Linked DNA regions of Homo sapiens: all the other regions are linked to region 1. Evidence: promoter capture Hi-C in human tissues and cell types (Jung and others, 2019). All regions are on one chromosome and are shown on one strand. Each heading gives the region's core, a stretch centred on a gene start or on the middle of the fragment in contact. The rest is flanking DNA. Distances are from core to core; before and after follow the strand shown. Region 1 holds the start of PLAA (phospholipase A2 activating protein). Region 2 overlaps TEK (TEK receptor tyrosine kinase). Region 3 has its middle 160 kb from the start of CAAP1.

What was found. Contacts are between HindIII fragments. The study calls those that stand out against the background at their distance.
Region 2: a fragment that was not itself captured here is called in contact with the fragment with the promoter of PLAA in region 1 in 2 of the 25 tissues and cell types used here (IMR-90 fibroblasts and mesenchymal stem cells).
Region 3: a fragment that was not itself captured here is called in contact with the fragment with the promoter of PLAA in region 1 in 1 of the 25 tissues and cell types used here (IMR-90 fibroblasts).

The regions. Positions count from the first base shown.
Region 1 is chr9:26,944,997-26,949,025 of GRCh38, forward strand. PLAA (phospholipase A2 activating protein) reads right to left here and starts at 2,246. Exons shown (of 14, transcript NM_001031689.3): 1 at 1,901-2,246. The coding sequence starts at 2,049. It also overlaps a transcript of IFT74 not described here. RefSeq lists enhancers at 1,321-1,996, 1,740-1,999, 1,997-2,670, 2,260-2,569. The HindIII fragment of the contact is 5,571 bases long and covers 1-3,550 here.
Region 2 is chr9:27,176,109-27,180,137 of GRCh38, forward strand. The region is part of intron 6 of TEK (TEK receptor tyrosine kinase); the gene reads left to right. Among named protein-coding and RNA genes, the nearest start is that of TEK, 69 kb to the left of the region's middle. The HindIII fragment of the contact is 3,143 bases long and covers 205-3,347 here.
Region 3 is chr9:26,731,456-26,735,484 of GRCh38, forward strand. No RefSeq gene overlaps it. Among named protein-coding and RNA genes, the nearest start is that of CAAP1, 160 kb to the right of the region's middle. RefSeq lists an enhancer at 3,807-3,876. The HindIII fragment of the contact is 3,842 bases long and covers 1-3,730 here.

The sequences.
Region 1 (4,029 bases), core at 996-3,495:
CATGCCTGTAATCACAGCTTCTTGGGAGGCTGAGGCAAGAGAATCGCTTGAACCCCGGAGGCGGAGGTTGCAGTGAGCCAAGATTGTGCCATTGCACTCCAGCCTGGGCAACAAGAGCAAAACTCTGTCTCAAAAAAAAAAAATCAATAGTTCAATGAACAACAAAATCACTTTTCAAATAGAGAATCAGTTCAGCCCAAAGTTCTTCAAGTTCCTGGTAAGCACAACCACTCCAGTGATTAAACCCTTGTCAAACTAGTACAGTCCCAAAAGTTTAATGACAGGATTCCATTATTAAAACAGGCATCCTTGATTATACTCCTTACTGCAATGGTTATATTCTACTGGGCTTATGCTTCTACTGGATTCAATTTTAAAGGCAAAAACTTAATAACTGTACTCAAACAAAAAGTTCCATATTAGTATTACTAAGTAGTTTTGGATATTATAGAATTTTAGAGTTAGATCTTTAGAGATCATCTCATTCAATTCAATACAGGAATTTGCTCTATACTATCCCTAGCCTAGTGGACCATCTTGTGTTGATTATACTACTTCAAAAGCCTCCAAGCAAACCCACTTCTACACTTATCCCTTCTCAATCTATTCTCTACCATCAGCTAGCAGAAACTTCTCAACACGGAAATCAGATCATGTTGCTCCCTGCTTGAAACTATTTGAAGGCTTCCATCTGCAAACTCCATAACCTGGCTCTTGCCAGCCTCAAAACCTGCCCTCACCTCACAGCTAATTCCCTCCTGTTTGCTCCTCCAGCTGCCTGGAATGCTCTTCCAATTCAATCCTCCCTATTTGCTCTTCCACGACCAGCTCCATCCATCTCATGCTTCAAATGTCAACTTTAAACAAACAACTCCTCAGAGAGGCTTCCTTTAATATATCTCTCCACCTAATTAACTGTATGTTTTCTTCACATGCCAGTTTTTAATTATTTATTGGCTTGTTTTTTAATCTATCTTCCCCATCAGACTGTAAGAAAGCTCCAGAAACACTGGCAACTTGTCTGTCTTTATTCCTCTCCAGTATCCCAAACAAAGAGGAGGCACTCAACAGTTATCAACTGAATTTATGGATGGTGACTCAAATTCTAAAATCTCTAGCAGTGGGAGACCTACTAAATAACAAAATAACTAACCTCAATTTTTCTTTCTCTGAACTGCAATCTGTCTTCTAGGTCTTAAATATCCTGTTACAACCAGCCAAATCAGGGCTGAACCCGTGAACTCGATCAGGACTGATTCCTAACCTTTTTCTTCTTTTTTTTTTTGGTTCGTGAACCCTTCTGATAAATCCTTTGAAGGCAATGGATGCTGCTTCTCCTCAAGAAACAGCACATGCACAGAAACAAAACATCCGAGAGGTTTCACTCCCTCAGGACCAGCACAGACCACAGACTAAAATTCTAACCTGGACGAAAAGAGGATTCACCAGTGCAATTTTTGAGAACTAAAGTCTTCAAAAATTAAATTTTACAGAAGACTACAGAGCATCTTCTTCGAAAAAAAAAAAAAAAGAGGACATTTCAGATGCCTTCAAACTACCTCACTTCGGAGGGTGCAACTGCAATCAGTAAATTTTCAAGTCTAAAAGAAACTTGGGAGATCATCGTCCAAAAACTGAAGGCCCAAAAGGTAGGAGACTCGTCTGTGGTCAAGTTAGCACAACAAGGCAGGTCTTTGGTCCCCCAACCCTGTGCTCTTTCCACTTAAATCCCGATGGTTTCTTACAGAGTTCTAATAGTCTGAGAATTGGAAGGGAGCGGAGAGCAGAGGGAAGGCTGGGGGGAGAGAGAGACGGCAGGACTGACAGGGAAGGGTCACTCTCCTTCCACTCTCCGGGAAGCGTGCAACACAGCCGGGGCAACCCGACTCCCAGCGCTCACCTGTCTGGGGCCCAGAGGCGGGTGGTGCGGTCTCGGGACACGGACACAAAGGCTCCCGGCGGATAGGCGCAGCACACCAGGCCCCGTACGTCCAGCTCGTGGCCCCGGAGCGAGCAGCTCAGCCGGTACCTGGTTGCGCCGCTCGTCATGGCCAGTGTCTGTCTGGCGCCCGGTGCCCAGGCACTGTGCGAGACCAGTCCGCAGGGGCGACTCGGAGAGCGCCGGGCCGCGGCGGGAGAAGAGCCTGCAGGTAAGGGGCGGCCGGAGACCGGAAGAGCCCGAGAGCCGGTACGGAAGGGCGGCTGGGAAGGGGCGCGCCGAGCGGGCCGAGTGACACAGCAAGCCTGACAGGCACTCCGGAATTCATCATCGGCCTCAGCCCTCCATGACGCAGAGTGTGTGCGTCCCAACCGCCGACGCCGATGCGGAGCTGAGCTGGCTTTCCTCCAGGGCTCTGGACTCCCTGCTGAGCAAGAGAGAAAGAGGCCCGCCCTTCCACCAGGACGCCTGACCCTGGGGTCCTTCCCAAACCCGGGTCTCTTCCGACTCCGGGCCCAACAGTTTGTGGTAAATCGGGAAGCGGGCCGGGACTACAATTCCCATAATGCCGCGCCAGCTGGCGTGGACATCCGGCGCGCCGAATCCGGATATTTTAAACCTGAGTCTTTCGCGCTGGGCATGGCGGAATGGCTGAGTGAGGTTGTTTGGTGTCTACTGTTAGGTCATCCTCACTGCTTTTCCCTGAGAATCTCGAGGTTTTTGCAAGTTAACCTTGTTTTTCAATTAAAACGAGAAAGCTTGAGGCCAAATTGGGAACTATTAATCATTGAACTATTCCTCCGTTTCAAGTTATCTGAATCTCCTACTCTCTGTTGTCAAATTTAGCAAATACGGTGGTCCAAGTCAATTTTTTAAAGGTATAACTACTTTTCTCTGGCGGCTTGTTAAAATGTAGATTCTGATTCAGTAGGTCTGAGTTAGAGCTGAGATACGTATTTTTAACAACCCCGCCGCCCACCCACCCGTGGTGCTACTTGCTAGTCATTATCAGACCTTATTGAGTGCCAGGGTAAACATGACCTGTCTCCTTACTTTGTTTTCTTCCCATCCGCTATTCTCTCGCATCCAACTACACTTTTCCACAAACCTTTCTAAATTGCTAAGCCCAATTCACACTTTTCTGACTTCTCCCTTCCTAAAACTCCTACTCTAGGTTTGGAATCACTTTTCCCCTGGTTTGGGAGATCATTCTTGAAATGCTGACTTTTGATACTTCTTTGCTATCATATCCCCTCCCTGGGTGGATTATTTACTACTTGGCTTATTTCTAGAGCTGTATTCCCATATTGTCTTCTCCAAACTCTAGATCTGTATTTCTAGCTATCTGTTAGAAATCTGTACCAATTAGTCCTACTTAAATTATTTCAACATTTCTCTGGCCTTTCTACCCCTTCTCTCCAGCCAATCCTACACATTAAAATATAATTATCTTTCTGAAATATACACTTAATTGTTTTTTCTCTGTTTGACAACCTGTGATGGCTTTCCATTATTTTTTTTTTTTTTTTTTTTTTTTTTTTTTTTTTTTTTTTGAGACGGAGTGTCGCTCTGCTGCCAGGCTGAGTGCAGTGGCGCGATCTCGGCTCACTGCAACCCTCGCCTCCCGGGTTCAAGCGATTCCTGCCTCAGCCTCCCGAGTAGCTGGGACTACAGGAGCGCGCCACCATGCCCAGCTAAATTTTGTGTTTTTAGTAGAAACGAGTTTCACCATGTTGGCCAGGATAGTCTCAATCTCTTGACCTCATAATCTGCCCTCCTCTGCCTTCCAAAGTGCTGGATTATAAGCGTGAGCCACCACGCCTGGCCGGCTTTCCATTCTTATAGTACAGCATTACATAGGGCCTTTCACACAATCTCCCTAATCTGTTTTACTAGATTCATCTCCCTCTGTTATCTCTCTTACTCTAGACATTTCGAATTTGTCACAATTCCCTGAACACATTATGCTGTATGCTCTCCATGTCTCTATGCTCTTTGTACATGCATTTTTTTTTTAAACTTAGAATTCCACTTTCTCCATCTGTCATAGTTCAACACCAGTTTATCTTCTGTTTTTTTCTAGTTCCTCT
Region 2 (4,029 bases), core at 526-3,025, 230 kb after region 1:
AAGCAGTAGGAAAGCAAGGAGACATTTCTAACAGTAACTACTTAAGGACATGGTCTCCTTTAATAGTCCAGGATTTAGAATAGTCAACAATAGATTGTACACTGGCAAGTTTTATGTATCAGGGCTGGTTTCTATCTGAGGAAATAAGCAATAATAGAAATTTTTGAAGCAAATAGTGGGGACAATAAAGAGAACAGGGGAATTCCACTGTGCAAATATGTGATAATTCAAAGTCATTCAGAACACTTTGCCAGGAAGAAAGTTCTAGTGTATTCTAGAAACTAAAAAAATCAAGGCTTCATGATATTTTAAGGTCTTCTGCCATCCCAACAGAAACTTGATTTCAGTAGTCAGATTTCCTTTATGCTTATTAATAGTTCTTAACCTTTCTACCATCTGCTTTGAGTAAGAAGTTGTGATTAAGTTTTTTTCCAGCTTTATCAAGGTCTAATTGCTAAATAAAAATTGTATGTAGTTAAGGTGCAAAATGTGATATTTTGATATATCTATACATTGTGAAATGATTACTGCTGTTAAGCTAATTAACATATCCATCACCTCACACAGTTATCTGTGTGTGTGGGTGTGGTGAGAGCATTTAAAATTGCTCAGCACATTTCAAGTGTACAATACAGTAATATTAAGTTTAGCTACCACACTGTCTATTAGAACTCCAGAACTTACTTATCCTACTGTGTAATTAAAAGTTTTTGCCCTTTGACCAACATCTCCCCATTTCCTCCACCCTGTAGTCCCTGGGAACCACTATGCTACTCTGCTTCTATAAGTTTGACTTTTTCAGATTCCACTTATAGAAGAGATCTTACAGTATTGGTCTTTATATGCCTGGCTTATTTCACTTAGCATGGTGCCCTCCAGGTTCATCCGTGTTGTTGCAAATGACAGGATTTCCTTCTTTTCAAAGGCTGAATAATATGCCATTATATATGTGTACACACCACATTTTCTTTATCCATTCATCCATGGATGGACGAATGGTCAAGTCCATATTTTGGCTACTGTAAGCAATGCTGCAATGGACATGAGAAAACAGATGTCTCTTTGAGATAGTGATTTCATTTCTCTTGGATATATACCAGAAATGGGATTGCTGGATCATATGGCAGTTCTATTTTGAGTGTTTTGAAGAACTTCCTTATTGTTTTCCATAATGACTGTACCAATTTACATTCCCACCAACAGCATACAAGGGTTCCCTATTATCTACATCCTTGCCATTCTAGCAGGCGTGATGTGATATCTCATTGTGGTTTTGATTTTCATTTCCCTGATGATCAGTGAGGTTGAGTATTTTTCATAGACCTGTTGGCCATTTGTATGTCGTCTTTTAAGAGATGTCGGCTGGGCACGATGGCTCATGCCTGTAATCCCAGCACTTTGGGAGGCCAAGGCGGGCGGATCACCTGAGGTTGGGAGTTCGAGACCAGCCTGACCAACAACGAGAAACCCCGTCTCTACTAAAAATACAGAATTAGTCAGGCACGGTGGTGCATGCCTTTAATCCCAGCTACTTGGGGGGCTGAGGCAGGAGAATCGCTTGAACCAGGGAGGTGGAGGTTGTGGTGAGCTGAGGTCATGCCATTGCATTCCAGCCTGGGCAACAAGAGTGAAACTCCATCTCAAAAAATGAAAAAGAAAAAAAAAGATGTCTATTCAGGTCCTTTGTCCATTTTTTTATCAGGTTGTTTTCTTGCTATTAAGTGGTTTGCGTTCCTTATATATTCTGGATATTAACCTCTTATCAGGTGTATACTTTGGAAATACATTCTCTTGTTCCATACATTGTTTCTTCACTCTGTTGATTGTTTTCTTTGCTGTGCAGAAGCTTGTTAGTTTGATGCAATCACATTTGTCTATTTGTGCTTTTGTTGTCTGTGCTTTTGAGGTCATATCCAAAAAAATCATTGCCCGGATCAGTATCAAGAAGCTTTTCCCGTCTGTTTTCTTCTAGTAGTTTTACAATTTCAGGTCTTATGTTGTGTCTTTAGTCAATTTTGTTTTGAGTTTTGAATATAATGAGATGAGGTTCTAATTTTATTCTTCTGCTTGTGGTTATCCAGTTTTCCCAGGACTATTTATTGAAGAGATTATCCTTTCCCTGTTGTGTGTTCTTCATACTTTTGTTGAATCTGTTAACTGTAAATGTGTAAATTTATTTCTGGGCTGTCAATTCTGTTCCGTTGGTCTATATGTGTGTTTTTATGCCAGTACCATACTGTTTTTATTACTATAGCTTTGTAATATATTTTGAAATCAGGTAATGTGATGTCTCTAGCTTTGTTCTTCTTGCTCAATATTGCTTTGGCTATTCTAGGCCTTCTGTGGTTCAATATAAATTTTAGTATCGTTTTTTCTATTTCTGTGAAAAATACCATTGCAATTTTGATAGTGATTGTATTGAATTTGTAGATAACTTAGTTGTGATTGATACTAAAAATAAAGACTGCATTTTAGCTGGGTGAATAAAATACAAAATCAAAACAAATCATCATAGCCCCAAAAGACAAGCTTTTGCATTAATTTTTGGTTAGAAGCCTTCTAGTAATGTTACAGTTGACCAAAATAAGGACACCCAGTTAACAGAATCCATTTGCCATGTACCAAATTCTAAGAATTGTCCTGGCAGGTTTAGTGAGCTCCAAGGGAAAATAATGCTTCTACCCTGTCTTCCCAGGAGCTTATTACAAGTATCAAAACATAATTTGAATGGCTTAAATATTCTACTATAAAGAAACAGTCTTAAAAAGCTAACATTTTAAATTATCTTGATTTTTAGTTTTTAGCAGTTTAACCATGATGTGCCTATGCATAGTTTACTTTATATTTATTCTGCTAAGGGCTTAACAAATTTTTGAATGTGTAAATTTCAACAAATTGGGATAATTTAAACCATTATTTCTTCAAATATTTTGTCTAACCCTTTCTCTCTGGTCCTTCTTGGACCTCCAGTTACATGTGTGTTAGATGTTTTGTCTCTTGGGTCCCTAAGGATTAAAAATCATTTTTTTCCAACCTTTTTCCTACTTTTCTTCTTTAGATGGGCTATCTATTGATGTTGCTTCAAGTTTATTGACTCTTTCTTTTGTTATCTCCATTCTGTTGCTAAGTCCATACAGTGATTATTTGATTTCAAATATTGTGTTTTTCAGTTTTAGAATTCCTTTTGCTTTTTAAAAATAGTTTCTATTTCCCTGCTGAAGTTTCTCATTGTTGCATTTGTTATGAACATATCTTCTTTTACCTTACTGAGCATAGTTATTATAGTTGTTTTAAAATTCTTGTCTATTCCAACATCTGAGTCATCACAGTTGGTCTCTATTTATTTTCTTTTCCTTTAAAAAACGGGCCTTAATTCTCCATTTCTTCTTTGGATTGTATCTTGAACATTGAAAATGTTACATTATGGAGACTCTGGAATATGATACATTCCTTTTGGGAATGTTGATTTTGTTTTGTTTTAGCAGGCAATTAACTTGGTAGGATTCAAACCTCAAACTCTCACTGTTAGGAATCAGGTCAAACTCAGTTTAGTTCTTTTATCTTTAGCTGGGCTGCTTTGAGTCTATACTGAGCATGCATGGATCAAGGATCAGCCAAAGATCTGGGACTTTTCTCTGACTCTTTCTGGGTTTTCCCTCTCTCTCCAGTGGCTGTGGTTTTCCTGACTCTGTCTCTGATGCATCAGGCCAGTAGACTGCAGGTTTTCTTTGGAGTTGTAGCTTCCATACGTGGTGTCAACTGTACCTAACAGTTAGGCTAAAAGCTGAAAATTGGGAAACACATCATTCCCATCTTCCAAATTTCAATTCCCCTCCAGAATCTTCCAGGTCTTTTTTCTTCCTATCCCACTCTTAAGTGCTTTCAGGAAGTTATTTTCTAAATGTAGTTGTACCTACAAGAAAGTTGGCATGATAGGAGCTCATTCAACTTTTTTTGGAAGCATAACTCCCCAGCTTTTTAAGTTCCTGGTAATTCAGATAAATTACCCCCTACCTTACACAAATCAGC
Region 3 (4,029 bases), core at 560-3,059, 210 kb before region 1:
TGAGACTTTGCTGAAGTTGCTTATCAGCTTAAGGAGATTTTGGGCTGAGACGATGGGGTTTTCTACATATACAATCATGTCATCTGCAAACAGAAACAATTTGACTTCTTCTCATCCTATTTGAATACCCTTTATATCTTTCTCTTGCCTGATTGCCCTGTCCAGAACTTCCAATACTATGTTGAATAGGAGTGGTAAGAGAGGGCATCCTTGTCTTGTGCTGGTTTTCAAAGGGAATGCTTCCAGCTTTTGCCCATTCAGTATGATATTGGCTGTGGGTTTGTCCTAAATAGCTCTTATCATTTTGAGATATGTTGCATCAATACCTAACTTATTGAGAATTTTTAGCATGAAGGAGTGTTGAATTTTATCGAAGGCCTTTTCTGCATCTATTGAGATAATCATGTGGTTTTTGTCATTGGCTGTTTATGTGATGAATTACGTTTATTGATTTGCATATGTTGAACCCGGCTTGCATTCCAGGGATGAAGCCAACTTGATCGTGGTGGATAAACTTTTTCATGTGCTGCTGGATTCAGTTTGCCAGTGTTTTATTGAGGATTTTCACATCAATGTTCATCAGGGATATTGGCCTGAAGTTTTCTTTTTTTGTTGTGTCTCTGCCAGGCTTTGGTATCAGGATGATGCTGGCCTCATAAAATGAGTTAGGGAGGAGCCCCTCCTTTTCTATCGTTTGGAATAATTTCAGAAGGAATGGTACCAGCTCCTCTTGGTACCTCTGGTAGAATTTGGCTGTGAATCTGTCTGGTCCTGGGCTTTTTTTGGTCGGTAGGCTATTAATGACTGCCTTAATTTCAGAACTTGTAATTGGTCTATTCAGGGATTCAACTTCTTCCTGGTTTAGTCTTGAGAGGGTGTACGTGTCCAGGAATTTATCCATTTCCTCCAAATTTTCTAGTATATTTGCATAGAGATGTTTATAGGATTCTCTGATGGTAGTTTGTATTTATGTGGAATCAGCGGTGACATCCCCTTTATCATTTTTTATTGTGTCTATTCTCTATTTTCTTCTTTATTAGTCTGGCTAGTGATCTATCTTTTTGTTGATCTTTTCAAAAACCCAGCTCCTGGATTCATTGATTTTTTCATAGGTCTTTTCGTGTCTCTATCTCCTTCAGTTCTGCTCTGATCTTAGTTATTTCTTGTCCTCTGCTAGCTTTTGAATTTGTTTGCTCTCATTTCTCTAGTTCTTTTCATTGTGACGTTAGGATGTTGATTTTAGATCTTTCCCGCTTTCTCCTGTGGGCATTTAGTGCTATAAATCTCCCTCTAAACGCCGCTTTAGCTGTGTCCCAGAGATTCTGGTACATTGTATCTTTGTTCTTATTGGTTTCAAAGAACTTATTTATTTCTGCCTTAATTTCATTATTTACCCAGTAGTCATTCAGGAGTAGGTTGTTCAGTTTCCACGTAGTTGTGCAGTTTTGAGTGAGTTTCTTAATCCTGAGTTCTAATTTGATTGTACTGTGATCTGAGAGATTGTTATGATTTCTGTTGTTTTGCATTTGCTGAGGAGTGTTTTACTTCCACTTATGTGGTCAATTTTAGAATAAGTGCAAAGTGGTGCTGAGAAAAATGTATATTCTGTTGATTTGAGGTGGAGAGTTCTGCAGATGTCTATTAGGTCCGCTTGGTCCAGAGCTGAGTTCAAGTCCTGAATATCCTTGTTAATTTTCTGTCTAATATTGACAGTGGGGTATTAAAGTCTTCCACTATTATTGTTTGGGAGTCTAAGTCTCCTTGTAGGTCTCTAAGAACTTGCTTTGTGAATCTGGGTGCTCCTGTATTGGGTGCTCCTGTATTGAGTGCGTATATATTTAGGATAGTGAGCTCTTCTTGTTGCATTGCTCCGTTTACCATTATGTAATGCCCTTCTTTGTCTTTTGTGGTCTTTATTGATTTAAAGTCTGTTTTATCAGAGACTAGGATTGCAACCCCTGCTTTTTTTTTTTTTTTCTTTCTGTTTGTTTGGTAAACTCCCTTTATTTTGAGCCTGAGTGTGTCTTTGCACGTGAGATGGGTCTCCTAAATACAGCACACTGATGGCTCTTGACTCTTTATCTAATTTGCCAGTCTGTGTCTTTTAATTGGGGCATTTAGCCTTATTGTTATGTGTGAATTTGATCCTGTCATTAGGATGCTAGCTGGTTATTTTGCCTGTTAGTTGAGGCAGTTTCTTCATAGTGTTGATGGTCTTTACAATTTGGTATGTTTTTGCAGTGGCTGGTACTGGTTTTCCTTTCCATATTTAGTGCTTTCTTCAGGAGCTCTTCTAAGGTAGGCCTGGTGGTGACAAAATCTCTCAGCATTTGCTTGTCTGTAAAGGATGTTATTTCTCCTTCACTTATGAAGCTAGTTTGGCCAGATATGAAATTCTCAGTTGAAAATTCTTTTCTTTAAGAGTATTGAATATTGGCCCCCACTCTTTTCTGGCTTGTAGGGTTTCTGCAGAGAGATCCACTGTTAGTCTGATGGGCTTCCCTTTATGGGTAACCTGACCTTTCTGTCTGACTGCCCTTAACACTTTTTCCTTCATTTCAACCTTGGTGAATCTGATGATTATGTGTCTTGGAGTTGCTCTTTTCAAGGAGTATTTTGTGGTGTCCTCTGTATTTCCGGAATTTGATTGTTGGTCTGTCTTGCTAGGTTGGGGAAGTTCTCCTGGATGATATCCTGAAGAGTGTTTTCCAACTTGGTTCCATTCTCCCCATCACTTTCAGGTACACCAATCAAATGTAGGTTTGGTCTTTTCACATAGTCCCATATTTCTTGGACACTTTATTTGTTCCTTTTCATTCTTCTTTCTCGAATCCTGTCTTCACACTTTATTTCATTAAGTTGACCTTCAATCTCTGATATCCTTTCTTCTGCTTGATCAATTCACCCACTGATACTTGTGTATGCTTCACTAAGTTCTCATTTCGTGTTTTTCAGCTCCATCAAGTCATTTATGTTCTTGTCTAAACTGGTTATTCTAGTTAGCAATTCCTCTAACCTTTCGTCAACGTCCTTAGCTTACTTGCATTGGGTTAGAAATGCTCCTTTAGCTCAGAGAAGTTTGTTATTACCCACCTTCTGAAGCCTACTTCTGTCAATTCATCAAACTCATTCTCCATCCAGTTTTGTTCCCTTGCTGCTAAAGAGTTGTGGTCCTTTGGAGGAGAAGAGACATTCTGGTTTTGGGAATTTTCAGCTACTTTGCACCGGTTCTTTTTCATCTTCATGGATTTATCTACCTTTGGTCTTTGATGTTGGTGACTTTCGGATGGAGTTTTTGTGTAGACGTCCTTTTTGTTGATGTTGATGCTATTCCTTTCTATTTGTTAGTTTTCCTTCTAACAGTCAGGCCCCTCTGCTACAGGTCTGCTGTAGTTTGCTGGAGGTCCACTCCAGACCCTGTTTGCCTGGTTATCACTAGCGGAGGCTGCAAAACAGCAAAGATTGCTGCTGTTCCTTCCTCTGGAAGCTTCATCCCAGAGGGGCACCCACCAGATGTCAGCCACAGCACTCCTGTATGAGGTGTCTTGTCAACCCCTGCTGGGAGGTGTCTGCCCATCAAGAGACATGGGCATCAGGGACCCATTTGAGGAGGCAGTCTGTCCCTTAGCAAAGCTCGAGCCCTGTACTGGGAGATCTGCTGCTCTCTTCAGAGCCAGTAGGCAGGGACATTTAAATCTGGTGAAGCTGTGCCCACAGCCACCCCTTCCCCCAGGTGCTCTCTCCCAGGGAGATTGGAGTTTTATCTATAAGCCCCTGACTGAGGCTGCTGCTTTTCTTTTAGAGATACCGTGCCTAGAGAAGAGGAATCTAGAGAGGCAGTCTGGCTACAGAGGCTTTGCCAAGCTGTGGTGGGTTCCGCCCAGTTCGAACTTCCCCAGGCTTTGTTTATGCTATGAGGGGAATACCACCTTCTCAAGTCTCAGTAATGGCAGATGCACCTCCCCCAACCAAGCTTGAGCATCCCAGGTTGACTGCAGACTGCTGTGCTGGCAGTGAGAATTTCAAGCC